Linked DNA regions of Homo sapiens: regions 1 and 3 are each linked to region 2. Evidence: promoter capture Hi-C in human tissues and cell types (Jung and others, 2019). All regions are on one chromosome and are shown on one strand. Each heading gives the region's core, a stretch centred on a gene start or on the middle of the fragment in contact. The rest is flanking DNA. Distances are from core to core; before and after follow the strand shown. Region 1 holds the start of ALOX12B (arachidonate 12-lipoxygenase, 12R type). Region 2 holds the start of ATP1B2 (ATPase Na+/K+ transporting subunit beta 2). Region 3 holds the start of SLC2A4 (solute carrier family 2 member 4).

Region 1 (4,180 bases), core at 1,589-4,088, 440 kb before region 2:
GCTGACTTCACTTCCTTCAGGTCTTTACTCAAAAGTCTTCTTCCCAAGGAGCCCTCCTTGGCCACTCTGTATCTAAAATATCCTCCTTTTCTTTTTTCTGAGATGGATTTTCGCTTTTGTTGCCCAGGCTTGATAGCAATGGCATGACCTTGGCTCACTGCAACCTCTGCTTCCTGGGTTCAAGCTATTCTCCTGCCTCAGCCCCCGAGTAGCTGGGATTACAGGCATGCGCCACCATGCCCGGCTAATTTTTATTTTTAGTAGAGACGGGGTTACTCCATGTTGGTCAGGCTGGTCCCGAACTCCTGACCTCAGGTGATCCGCCCACCTCAGCCTCCCAAAGTGCTGGGATTACAGGCATGAGCCACCATGCCCGGCACTCCTCTATTTTTTATATTATCCTTCCCTGTTCTCTCTTTTCTCTTCAGCACTTATCACTATTTAACATACTATTTAATGTATTTGGTTACTAGGTAATATTGTCTGCTTCCCTCACTTGAAGGCAAGCTCCATGGGTGCAGGGGTTTGCTTTGATCGCATTGTATTTTCAGGACCTGACACAGCGCTGAACACACAGTAGGGGTTCGGCCAGTGTCTGTTGATGAATGAATGAAAGGCACGTGGTCCCAGACAGAAGAGAGCAAAGGGGAATGTGAGGGGTGAAGCCAATCAGGCAGGCCGTGGGGGCCACGGGAGGGGATGGTGTCACTGTCCCAAAGGTAAAGAGGAGCCACTGCCAGGCTTGATCAGGGTTGGGAGGAGGGAACATAGAGAGTGATGTGAACAGATTTGGGTCTGGAAAAGATCATTTCAATCCCCAACTCCAGCCACATCTGTGTCTCTAACCTAAACCTGAATTGCAGTTTCGACCCCATTCCACATCCAGTCTGGAACCTACTGGAACCTTCTCTTCATCTCACAATCCCAGCCCCCTCTGACCCTAACTTGGCCTGGGCATTGAATGACCTTCCTTCGATGGTGATGGAAGCGTGCCATCAGGGAGGAAAGCAGGGCTATGCTTCCTGGTTGACAGAAGCTGCTCCTCGGAGGTGAAAGGAAAGAGGACAGGTCCAGAAAAAGGGAATAGGAACGTGCCTGCCTCCTCACTCTCCCTGGGTCCCAAATCCTATCTTTGGAGAGTCTATCTCTGACTCTCTCATAATGCTCTTCACCTTACTCCTAACACCTTCTCCCTATCCTGCGGCTCTGACTTCTGTGATTCTATCAGCAACTAGTTCCCAATCCCAACCTCCCACGCTTATTTTCTTCAGAGCACTTAGTATCCAAAATTATAGTGAACAAATTCTTGTTTACTGTTTCTTTCACTTCTTTCCCAGCTATTCCGTAAGCTCCATGTATGTTTCATTTCTTCTCTGCCTCTGCAGTGCCTAGAACGCCGTGCACCGTGCTCACTACATATCTGAGGGAGGAACGACCTGGTTCCCAACAAACACAGTTCCACTGGAGCTCAGCCCTGCCTCCAGCCCTCTTCCTAGCTTCATTCTTTTTTGGGAGGGAAGTGAGGGTATGTACTTTATGAAATTAAAGGATAACACATAATGAAATGAATGAAGTACCCTAGACGCCCCTCAGATCAAGATAAGAACACCTCCAGCAGCCTATATGGCCTCCCTCTGCCAGGGATACTCACCAGTAGAGGTTGTCTGAGAATTGCTCAGTTTTGCTGGTTCTGGAAGTTCCTATCAATGGATAACAGAACGTATCCCCTTTAATGTCTGGCTCTTTTTGCTCAGTATCATCTTTGTGAGACTCATCCGCATTGCAGTTCATTCTTTTTATTCCTGGGTAGAATTCTATTTTATGATTATACCACAAAATATTGATCATATTAATCCATTATTTAACTTAATTCTTTTGTCTTTTTTTTTTGGAGACGGAGTCTTGCTCTGTTGCCCAGGCTGGAGTGCGGTGGCACGATCTCAACTCACTGCAACTTCCGCCTCCTGAGTTCAAGCGATTCTCCTGCCTCAGCCTCCCAAGTAGCTGGGACTACAGGCGCATGCCACCACGCCTGGCTAATTTTTGTATTTTTAGTAGAGACAAGGTTTCACCATGTTGGCCAGGCTGGTCTCGAACTCTTGAGCTCAGGTGACCCACCTGCCTTGGCTTTCTAAAGTGCTGGGATTACAGGCGTGAGCCACCACGCCCAGCTATTTAACTTAATTCTTATGCCCCAGATTTCACTCTGTCTTCTAATTTAGTTTTTTTTTTTTTTTTTTTGGGCTTCTGATTTTATATCCAACTCCAATCCCTCACCAGTGGATCCTGGCCCCACAGGAAGCAACAGATCCCCTTCTCCTACCCTGATCGTTCCTCCCCGCAGCATCTTCAGGCCTTTGGGCACCCATGTGGTCCCCGAGCCCTAGCTTCAACACCTCCCACCCTTCCAGTCACAGACTCTGGGCCCTGGGGCAGAAGGACAGGCCAGCTTTCTCACTGTGGCCACTACCTGTCCCATTTCCCAGAGAGGAATGGCCTGGAGGCTGGCCAGCTGCGCTGCCACTTAGTGCCCCTCCCCCTCCCCTCCCCCGCCCACCAGTGGCCTCAGAACCAATGCAAGTCACTCACTGCCCATGGCCCTGCTTAGTAGGGGTGCCTGGCACTGTAGCCAATGGGGACTGGCAGGAGGAAGGAGCTTATTAGTCTGATAAAGATCTGGGGACCACACCCTGCCCCCTCCCGCAACTTCCCTAGGGCCCTGGCTCAGGCTGGACTGGCTCCCCCACCCTGAAGGCGCCTTCATCCACGGCATCTTCTATCCGCCCTTTCAGAGGCAGGCCCAGTGCCCTGCCTGCTCTTCCTCCCCACCAGCTCCCAGAAGGCTTGGAGCCCAGACACCTGCTCACTCACCACCAGCTGGGCTCCGCCTGGGCCTGCCCGGCACCCACCCCGGCCACCAAGGGCAGCAGCTTTTCCAGAATTTGGCTGGCAGGCCTAGTCACCCCACCTCGCCACCTCACCACTGCACCTCGGAGGCCAGCCCTGTCCACTCCACTCTGTGCCTGGCTTCTCTTGCCTGCCTTGGGCCTTCGTGTGGCCCCTCCACGGTGTCTGGGACTGAGTGCCCCTCTTGCCTCCTGAAGAGCAGCCATGGCCACCTACAAAGTCAGGGTGGCCACAGGCACCGACCTCTTGTCGGGAACACGGGACTCCATCTCACTGACCATTGTGGGGACACAAGGAGAGAGCCATAAGCAGCTGCTGAACCACTTTGGGAGAGACTTTGCAACTGGGGCGGTAAGAGTGTGTGTGTGTGTGTGTGTGTGTGTGTGTCTGTGTGTGTGTGTGTGTGTGTCTGTGTGTGTCTGTGTGTGTCTGTGTGTCTTTGTGGCCCCGGGAGGGGTGAAGGTGCGCAGGGGGAGCCAGGTGAGCTGAGCTTGGCGAGGAGAGGCTGGAGAGCTGAGGCACAGCTCCGAAGGCAGTGGGCTCCCCAGTGGCTCTACACGCCTTGTCCAGAGCTGGCTTCCAGCCCCTCGCCCATGTCCCAGATCTCTGGGCCATCCTTCTCCATCCTGCTCCTTCATCTCTAACCCTTTCAGGCATTCCTCATCTCCCTCCCCATCCTTTTCTTCTCTCTCCCTCTTCCTCAGCCCTCTCTCCCTGTCTCTGCCTATCCTGCATCTCTCTTTTCTCAATCCTTTCCACCTGCTTTCCTTCCCCTTTGCTCTCCTCCCCTTTCTGTCTTACCCCCTCTCCCGCATCCCTCTCTCTTCCATTCTCAGTCACTCTTCCTAATTCAGCTGCCTCCTAACTGTCTCACATTTGCACTGGATTCTCTGTGACTTAAAATGGCATCAGACCAGCCTGTCCAGTGGAAGGCACGCTTTGCGGGTCCTCAGACCTGATTTTCAGTCAGACCCAGCCACCTGCTGCTAGGCGACCTTAATAGGTCACTCTATCTATGTGGCCATTCTGAATATCTGCATCTTCATTGATGAATGGGAGAAGGGGCTGGCTGGGCCTCTCCCCACTCGAAAACTGTAGAGTGGTACCCAAGTCCCCAGGGGTCTGAAGGGTTCCTGCAACCTCAGGTGCCTGGAGAGGGGAGTGGGAGAAGACAGGAGCTGGGGATGGAGAGAAGGAGGGGCTGGAGTCCTACATAGCCCTGGGTAGAGGAATCCAGTAGGAGACCCCCAAGCTGGAGAAGTCAGAAGGAAGC
Region 2 (4,574 bases), core at 767-3,266:
TCAGATTTGAATAGCAACATCTCTCTCCTGGTGCCCTTCAGAAGCCAAACTTTGAACACAGTTCCTGAAATGAAAGACCTAACACTAGCCTAGCTACAAATCTCTCAGAGACGGCTTGTTAGAACCTTCAACAGTCACCCCACCCTCAGTTCACACCCAGCACCCTGGGCAGAGGCAGGGAGGAAAGGCAGAATCTCCCACAGCCTTCCCTTGGTGGGATCTCTCCATGGCTCCCCCGCCTGAAGTAAGGACCCAAGGGCCGGCTGTTCCCACCACCCTGGACTCCCAATCCTTCCATCTCAGAGGACACTTCTTCCATGAAGTCCTCTGGCTCTCCCAAGCATTGCTGGATTCTTCTCATCCCAGGGGCTGGAGTTTGAGTTCCCTGAGGGAATGGATTGCATGGGACCCACTTCGTGTAGGCCCCGAATGGGTGGACTGATGGGGACGGTGCCCAGTGTGGAAAGATTGTAAATCGTGTCACACAGTGTCCTCTGTCCCCTGTGTCTCAACGTCCCAGCTTGACCATCCCTCTTGGAAGAATTCCACCCCTCACCTGCACCTGTGCCGGTCACCAGACCCCCTCCACCCCCCCAACCCCCGACCACTACAGCTCCCTGAGTCCTGCCATGGTCAGCCTGGGGAGGCTTCCAAGTCATCCGACTGTCACAGACACCTGGCTGGCTGATGCACACAAATCACCACAGCGACCACTCCTCCCTCCGTCACCGACATGGGAGCAAAACCTGCAGCCTCGGTAAAACTCATACTATCAGCAGCCCCCCAACCCACAAAGCAGTCCCAGAAGGCTCCCAAGGCCAGGCGGTGGGATACAGACAACTTCCGCCGTGAAGAACCCCCCTAACACACCCCCCAAGACCCGCCCCCTCATGAACGTTCCCAGGGTCCAGGGGGTGGGCACGAGCTAAAAATAGACGGGGCTGCGGAGCTAGTGAGAGCCGGAGGGAGGGAAGGGGCGCTCTTTGGAGGTGGGGGACGCCCGTGTGGAGCGGACAGGCCCCGAGAGGGAGTGTGAGCGCCGGCGCGGACACGCAGGCGGAGCTGGCGACCCCCCGCCCGAGGGGGCTCCGCGGGGGGCGGGAAGGCGGCTGTGACCTACTTTCTCCGCCTCCGCACGGCCAGCCGGGGAGATTAGACTGGCGATTCGGCCCCCTCCCAGCCCAGAGCCCGGCAGGGAGGCTGGACGCCGGGGACCCGGGAGGGGAGCTGGGGCCGCGTCGGCGGGACCCTGCGCCCCCGAGGCGTCGCCCCGCGGCTTTCCCCCGCCCCTTGCGTGCCGGCCCTGCGTACCCCAGCTGGTCCCGGTGCGGCCCATAAACTGGTGCGTCCTCGGGTTCCACACGAACTCCTTCCACTCCTCAACCACCTGCCCGCAGCTCTTCTTCTCTTTCTGGATGACCATCTTGGTGGCGCGGGGCGAGTCCGGGCGCGGGGCGGGGGGTTGCGGAGAAGCGGGGGCGCCGCGCGCTGAAGCCCTCCACACACCCAAAAGCACGGGGAGCGAAGGCGGCGCGGGCAAAGGAGACCCCCCTCAGATATGCAGCTGCTGCAGATTCCGGGGTGCACGACCACGCGCTGCGGGGTGCTGGCAGCGCGGCGGAAGATGCACCGATCCTAGGCCCCCCAACTGCGATGAAAAGGGGTGCTGTCAGAGCAGGGGAGAATAACAAGAGGAAGGGGTATGAATGCAGCTTCACCCCCCACCAAACCGTCTAGAAACAAAACGAAATGGGGTGCAAAAACAGACGGCTACAAAAACCGAGCAGAACGCAGAAAAAAAGCGGGGTACAAAAAGGCAGAGAGAGGTGGGGGAGGGGGCCGCCCCGAAATCCAAGATGCAAAGAAGCTGTGGAACGAAGCTCAAGGCTCGCTCCGCCAAGCGGAGACCACTGCACCGGTGGTGGCTCAGCCGCGGGGGTGGGGCGGGGACGCGCAGCTGGGGGACAGCCAGGGATGGGGGGCCCCCCAGGCGGAGGCTCCGCTCCTCAGCAGTGCGAGGCCCGCGGTCGCCGAGCGCGGTCTTTATACTCTGCGGCTCTGGGGGTGCCCGCCCCCTTCCCACCCCCAGAAGCTCCGCCTCCTCGCCACTGGCCCAGGCGACCTCATACATATGTAAATATGGAGAGGTTGGGCCCGCCCCCCTGACTTCTCTTAGGGACCTAGCTGTCTCTCCATTACCCCCACCCCAGGTACTAGACTGGGACAGGGTGGGAGGAAGAGATAGAGGGCGTGTCCGGGCGGAGTAGAGGGAAAGATAACCCCAGAGAAACACAACGGCAGAGAGAGAAGCCGATATATGCTCAAAGGTGGGGGCCCCAGGCAGGGAGTTAGAAAGAGACTAAGATACAGATGCGGCGGAAGAGTCCGGGAGCAGATGGGGCAGAATGTCAGAGGAATAAAGAGCTAGAGATCAAGAAAGAGAGCGAAGAGACCAGCCGGGAGGCTGGCCGAGCCAGGAGGGAAGCTAGGACAGGCCCCGCAGAGATGGATAAAGGCCACCCCCAGAGGGACGTTCCCCTGTTGGGAGCCGCTACCAGTCCCCCAGACGCCTCCTTCTCCAATCTCACAGCCCCTGTCCACACCACCTGGCTCTGTCCACGTGCAGAGGCTTCCCCATCTTCCCATCACGTCTCCCTGAAGCCCTCTCAACACCACATTCCCAGTCCCCAGCACTGCCCTGAGATCCCAGCCCTGCAGCCAGGTCTACTTCGGTTCTCTGCCTCCTGGCACCCCCACCCCCACGTCGGAACTCACCTCCTTATGTGTCTACTTGGGTCAACAAACATTTATTGAGCACCTCTATAGACTGTGTGCTGTAGCCCTGGGGAGGCCAGAGAGGTTACACTGAAGCCACATCTCTCACGGGGCTCACAGTCTAGGGCGGGAGTACACTTGCTCTACATACCACATGTTAAGAATCATTATCTCAAGCCGGGCACGGTGGCTTATGCCTGTAATCCCAGCATTTTGGGAGGCCGAGGCGGGCAGATCACGAAGTCAGGAGTTCGAGACTAGCCTTGCCCACATGGTGAAACCCCGTCTCTACTTAAAAATGCAAAATTAGGCCAGGCGCGGTGGCTCACGCCAGTAATCCCAGCACTTTGGGAGGCCGAGGTGGGTGGATCACGAGGTCAGGAGATCGAGACCATCCTGGATAACACAGTGAAACCCCGTCCCTACTAAAAATACAAAAAAAAAAAATTAGCTGGGCGTCGTGGCGGGAGCTTGTAGTCCCAGCTACTTGGGAGGCTGAGGCAGGAGAATGGCATGAACCCGGGAGGCGGAGCTTGCAGTGAGCCGAGATCGCTCCACTGCACTCCAGCCTGGGCAACAGAGCTTCCGTCTCAATAAAAAAAAAAAAAAAAATTAGCTGGGCATGGTGGTGGGTGCCTGTAGTCCCAGCTACTCAGGAGGCTGAAGCAGGAGAATTGCTTGAACCCGGGAGGCGGAGCTTGCAGTGAGCTGAGATCACGCCATTGCACTCCAGCTTGGGCAATAGAGTGAGACTTCGTCTCAAAAAAAGAGAGAAAAAAAAAATCATTATCTCGGCCAGGCCCAGTGGCTCATGCCTGTAATCCCAGCTCTATAGGAGGCCGAGGCCAATGGATCACCTGAGCAAGGGAGTTCGAGACCAGAGGTCAGGAGTTCAAGACCAGCCTGGCCAACATGGTGAAACTGCGTCTCTACTAAAACTAAAAAAATTAGCCGGGTGCGGTGGTGGGAGCCTGTAATCCCAGCTACTCAGGAGGCTGAGGCAAGAGAATTGCTTGAACCTGGAAGGTGGAGGTTGCAGTGAGCCGAGATTGTGTCACTGCACTCCAGCCTGGACAAGAGCAAAACTCCATCTCAAAAAAATGGTATGCATTGAATGAATGAATGAATGAATGGGAGTTGGGGCTGGCCTCTGAAGGGTAGGTAGTCTTCCAGGACAAAGGAATGAAAGGCACAGAGGTGTGAAGTCAGGAGTAAGCACAGTCTACCCCAGGAGTGGCTGGCTTGGCTCCAGGAGAGAACTAGTCGGAGACTAGTGGGAAAGGAGGTTGGGGACACAGCATGGGTGTGGATTGCGGAGTACCCTGCAGGTTAGACTGAAGAATCAGGACTCTATCCTACAGGCTAATAAGAAGCCACTGAAGAACTTTCAGCTGAGGAGTGGCCTAATTAAAGCTGTATTTTGAGAAAATTAATCCCGAATCTGCTGCAGAATAGACTGAAGCATGGCCAGCTGCATAATTGTCAGGATCCAGTGCAAAATGGAAATGCAGGGACCCTTGTTCAAAACCTAGGGGAAAAAATGCCCTTAGAGGCACTAAAATATAAACTTTTTTTTTTTTTTTTTTTTTTTTTTTTTTTGGAGACAGAGTCTCACTGTGTCACCCAGGCTGGAGTGCAGTGGCATGATATCTGCTCACTGCAGCCTCTGCCTCCAGGGTTCAAGCGGTTCCTCCCTCAGTCTCCCGGGTAGCTGGGACTACCACCACGCCCGGCTAATTTCTGTATTTTTTTGTAGAGATGGGATTTCACCATGTTGGCCAGGCTAGTTTTGAGTTCCT
Region 3 (4,720 bases), core at 2,221-4,720, 370 kb after region 2:
GCAGGAGCAGAGCCACAGTCATCAGGATGGCACAGCCACACATGCCCGCCAGGCCCAGGAGATGGAGCGTCCGGCGCCCCGCCCGCTCCACCAACAACACCTGCGGGGAGAGTCGGAGCTTGACCCCAGCCTTTTGGGCACGGGAAGTAGGAGGGGCCGCGTGGGTGAGGGCAACCAAGAGCAGGACCTCCGGGACACCCAGGGAGGTGAAGCCAGTGGCTCGGGCCATTCCAGAGGTGAGCAGTTACCGAGACCAAGGTGAAGACTGTGTTGACCACACCAGCTCCTATGGTGGCATAGGCAGGCTGGCCTACCCCTGCTGTCTCGAAGATGCTGGTCGAATAATAGAAAACCTAGAGGTGGGGGAGAAGAAGAAGTGATGGCAGGAATGCCCCTTCCTCTACTCCAGCCACAACAGGCTGGCCCTACCCTGGGTGTTGGTGGAGGGGGTTTGCTCCCCACTCTCGTCTACCCTCCCGGGGCTGTGCCCTGCCTGGAGGCTGCTCCACACATACAGCATTGATGCCAGAGAGCTGCTGGCTCAGCTGCAGCACGACCGCAATGATCAGGGGCTGCCGGTGGGTACGGCTGCCCAGGAGCTGGAGCAGGGACAGTGGCCGCTCACGCTCCAGCTTCCGCTTCTCATCCTTCAGCTCAGCCAGCACTCCAGAAACATCGGCCCAGCCTGTCAGGCGCTTCAGACCTGGAGAAGGGAAGGTCAGGCCTGAGGGGACCTGAGAGGAAGCCAGGTGCTAGCAAGATGAGGCGGAGGCATGGGCCTGGGCCAGGCTGCAGCGGGAGAGCTTACTCTTTCTGGCAGGCCCCTCGAGATTCTGGATGATGTAGAGGTAGCGGGGGCTCTCGGGACAGAAGGGCAGCAGGACCAGCTGCAGGAGGGCAGGTAGCACTGTGAGGCCCAGGAGCAGTGGCCACAGGCTGGCAGTGCCCAGGAGGGACTCCAAGCCCAGCACCTGTGGGAGAAGGTTGGGAAAGAAGGCAGGTCACTCAGCCCTTCTGCCTTACCTTGGAAGCCCACCATATTCTCCAGAGCCCCACTCTAACCACTGCCCAGGCACCCATGAGGCTTGCTCCGGTCACCTGGGCGATCAGAATGCCGATAACAATGGCCAGTTGGTTGAGCGTCCCCAGGGCGCCCCGCAGGTGAGTGGGAGCAATCTCCCCCACGTACATGGGCACCAGCCCTGATGTCAGCCCTGGGCGAGGGAAGAAGAGAGGGCTGAGGGCAGGTGTCCATTCCCATCTGAAAGCCCAGGCATGGTGAAAGAGAACAGGGCGCTAGGCAGGGCTGTGGTGCCCGTGAGTACCTGAGTAGGCGCCAATGAGGAATCGTCCAAGGATGAGCATTTCATAGGAGGCAGCAGCATTGGCCAGGCCCATGAGGCTGCCCCCCAGCACCGCCAGGACATTGTTGACCAGCATGGCCCTTTTCCTGGCAGGCAGACAGAGTGAGGCTGTGAGGGTGAGGGCACCCAGCAGTGGCTCCCTTCCTGTTTCCCCCACCCCTGCCCTCCAGCTGCGAACCTTCCAAGCCACTGAGAGATGATACCAATGAGGAAGGAGGAAATCATGCCGCCCACGGAAAAGATGGCCACGGAGAGGGCCCAGAGGGTGGTGAGGGTGCCTGGAGGGATGGAGCTGGGTCCCTCAGGCCCCTGCCTCCCCAGCCACGTCTCATTGTAGCTCTGTTCAATCACCTGGGGGACAGCAGAGGACAGATTTCCTGCAGACCGTCCCCTTTCCACCACCCCCGAGACACCTGTCCTCCTCGTTTGGGTACCCCCACCCTGCCAGCTGCAGGCCCTCACCTTCTGAGGGGCATTGATGACCCCAATGTTGTACCCAAACTGCAGGGAGCCAAGCACCGCAGAGAACACAGCAAGGACCAGGGTCCCAGTCACTCGCTGCTGAGGGGGTTCCCCATCCTGAACAGGCAGACACAAAGACACAGCATGTCACATGGAACCATGATTTTTTTCCTTCCGCTAGGGGCCCGGGCCCAGCTGGAGCCTGAAGATACTGGGCTCCACCCAACATGTTGGGTGAGGGAAACTGGGCCATATTAGGAATTGCACAAAGATCTCAATGTAAACAGGAGCTGAACTGCAACCTGGGCATAAAGGAGAAACTGGATGTTTGGGTCCATAAGGCAGAGAAATGTTTGAGAACTTGTCTCAAAATTCTTCTGTGACCTTGAGACAGGCTTGGCCTTAAGAGCTCAGATTTGTGTGACCTTGGCCAAGTCACTTCCCTGCCCCGAACCTGAGTGTCCTCTGTGAGATGGGGGTGATGTTGCCTGCCTTGCCTACCTATCTGTGAGAGTGTTGTGAAAATCAACATCACATGTTAACAATATCCTTGACAGTGCTGGTTTCATAAATTAACACGTGCATTATTATCATCAGCCACTGTCCTCTTCCCTCCCCTCTGGGGGTTCTGTCAGCCAGCTCCAGGAGGCCCCCAACAGGACCAAGAAGTGCTGTTCCAGAAAGGACATCCCGGTCATCTAGGGGTGGCCTTCTCTATCTACGTCGTGGCCTGCCCTCCCCCTCTAACCTCCGTGCAGGGAGGGCCGTCCAGGGGTTCTGCCTGGGAGAGCCATGCCCAGGGGAGGAGGGCAGGAAGGTAGTGTGAGGGGCGGTGGCAGTGGTGGCCGCTCGCTGGCGGCACAGACTGTCTCCAAGCGGAAACCTGAGCTGGAGGAGGGGGGGCTGACAGTCCCCTCTGCCCCTCCACCAACCATGGGGCCAAGGGAAAGTTCAGCGTCCTGGAGGGCGGCCAGGAGTGGGGGTGGGGGCCCACGGAGAGCCTCCGGTCCTCGAAACACTGCCCGTGAGCGAAGACGGACGGACAGCTCCCGGAGGGCAAGACCCGCCTGGATCTGCTTTCCCGAGTCGGATCGAGGGCAGGGTGTCCCCGATTCCGGAGCGCCGCGCCGCCTACTAGGCAAGGGGGTGAACCCTGGCTCGCAGAATCCACTTGCTGCCTGTGCCCCGAAAGGCCCTCCAGACCCACTCTGCCTTTTGGTAGGATTGGAATCTCACAGTCACGGGTTGTCCAGGCCGGGTATAAATAGCCAGCCCCCTACCTTCACCCCCTGCGCCTGCGCAGGAACCACCCCCAGCTGACCCCAACCGCGACCCCAGCCCAAGAAAAGCGGGACCCGTGCCCCCCCGCCCCGCCCCCTCATGATGAATCCTACTTCGGAGCCTATCTGTTGGAAGCCCGACGGCATCTCGTCTTAGAAGAGCTGGACGCGCAGGGGCGGCGAAGATGAAAGAACCGATCCTGGAGTCTCTGACTCCGGCCTGGAGCGCAGAACCTGCGGAGGCCGCGGGGGTCCCGGAGTGACGTGCGAGGGCGGGCCCGATGGGACCCACAGCCACAAGCCAAGGACCCGGAGAGCAGTGGGGCTCCCGCGGATCTGGTGGAGCGGGGCTGGGGGAAAAGACGCGAGAAGCCCCCGCCACCTCGCTCCTGCCCCCGCGGGCCACGCCCTTCACAGCACCCATTGGCCAGGAGCCCGCACACCCCAGAAGGCCACGCCCCCTCCGCCTGGGGTTTAGAGTTTGGCTGGAGTTGGTGGGGCGGGCCAATGAGGCCACGCCCCTCCGCGTGGCTGGCGAGACACGCCTCTCGGGTTCCCGCCAGCCTCCGACTGGGAAGTTTTGAGAAAAGAGTCCCTGGAACAAAAGGCCCCGCCCACCCACGTGTTAGGACTCCGCCCACCAGCTAGGATCCCGGGCTGCAGAAGCATCTTAAACTCTGCGGGTCTGGACAGTGGGGTCTGAGAGGAGAGGACGGGCCAGGTGTACTTGCCCCGGGGAAACTCCAGCGGCCTGAGACGGCTCGCGAGCCGGCGCGCGGGTTGGGAGAGGAGCAATGCCCCAAAGTAACCCGGGGCTGCTATTTTTAGCTCCCACGTTGGGAGCCTCCAAATGTCAGGTCCCGGGCGTCCCGGCCTGTCCCAGGCGGGGGCGGAGAGACAGGGAGATGACGCCTTAAAGAGTCCGCGACATGCTTCCCACGCGAGTGTGGCCCTGGGGGCCAGGAAATTCCGTTCCCACAACGGGTCTGGTGGCCGGGCTGCTTGGTCCTGTCTTTCAGCGCCTCCCTGCTCCGGGCACTGTCTATCCCGCCCTTCCCCTACACACATTCCCCAGGTTGGTTCCTGGAGCCGGTCCGAGGGACAAGTGGTCACAACCGACCACACCACCAGCCCTGAGGTCTCTGAGCCTCTGAGGTCTCTGAGCATATGCTGGCCGCGTGAACGACACGCTCTCTGGAGGCTGCTCCGGGTTTGGATCCTCGGCCAAATTCTGCCAGGCAGAAAGTGCGCGACCTAGGGTCGGCGTGTGGGGAGAGAGAAGCCGAAATACCCAGAGCGTGGAGAGTGTCTGGCTCAGAAAACGGGCTTCGGAAGCGCAGGGTTGTGCTGCCACCTGGAGGGCGAGCGAGGAGCCGCAGTGGATTGCACTTGGAATCTCAACCCACTATTTCTCGCCTTTCCGCCACCATAGGGCTTCAGTGACATCTGACCCAGGCCCTTCTCTGGAGCTGCAGATCCAGGTGTTCGTTACCGCCCGGATGTGGCAGCTCTAGTGATCAGCATGTCCAAACCTGCTCCTCCTCCTAACTTCCTTATTTCAATGAATTACCCGCCCAGTCACCCCTATGGTAGAAGTCAGGCTCGATTCCTCCT

Evidence for each region. The method cuts DNA at HindIII sites, captures the fragments that hold promoters and counts their contacts. A contact is called where the count stands out against the background at its distance.
Region 1: the fragment with the promoter of ALOX12B here is called in contact with the fragment with the promoter of ATP1B2 in region 2 in 1 of the 25 tissues and cell types used here (stomach).
Region 3: a contact is called between the fragment with the promoter of SLC2A4 here and the fragment with the promoter of ATP1B2 in region 2, in 2 of the 25 tissues and cell types used here (liver and small bowel).

Annotation. Positions count from the first base shown.
Region 1 is chr17:8,086,374-8,090,553 of GRCh38, reverse strand. It overlaps ALOX12B (arachidonate 12-lipoxygenase, 12R type), which reads left to right and starts at 2,838. Exons shown (of 15, transcript NM_001139.3): 1 at 2,838-3,258. The coding sequence starts at 3,112. MIR4314 (microRNA 4314) reads right to left here and starts at 2,498; the gene lies at 2,407-2,498. RefSeq lists an enhancer at 3,062-3,810. The HindIII fragment of the contact is 32,393 bases long and covers 1-4,180 here.
Region 2 is chr17:7,648,368-7,652,941 of GRCh38, reverse strand. It overlaps ATP1B2 (ATPase Na+/K+ transporting subunit beta 2), which reads right to left and starts at 2,016. Exons shown (of 7, transcript NM_001678.5): 1 at 1,312-2,016. The coding sequence starts at 1,423. RefSeq lists enhancers at 1,446-2,088, 2,363-2,863, 2,864-3,364 and a silencer at 1,957-2,106. The HindIII fragment of the contact is 20,754 bases long and covers 1-4,574 here.
Region 3 is chr17:7,280,468-7,285,187 of GRCh38, reverse strand. SLC2A4 (solute carrier family 2 member 4) reads right to left here and starts at 3,470. Exons shown (of 11, transcript NM_001042.3): 1 at 3,221-3,470; 2 at 1,827-1,943; 3 at 1,543-1,715; 4 at 1,326-1,450; 5 at 1,099-1,214; 6 at 809-971; 7 at 516-703; 8 at 249-353; 9 at 1-100. The coding sequence starts at 3,253. RefSeq lists an enhancer at 2,237-3,224 and a silencer at 3,357-3,506. The HindIII fragment of the contact is 23,134 bases long and covers 1-4,720 here.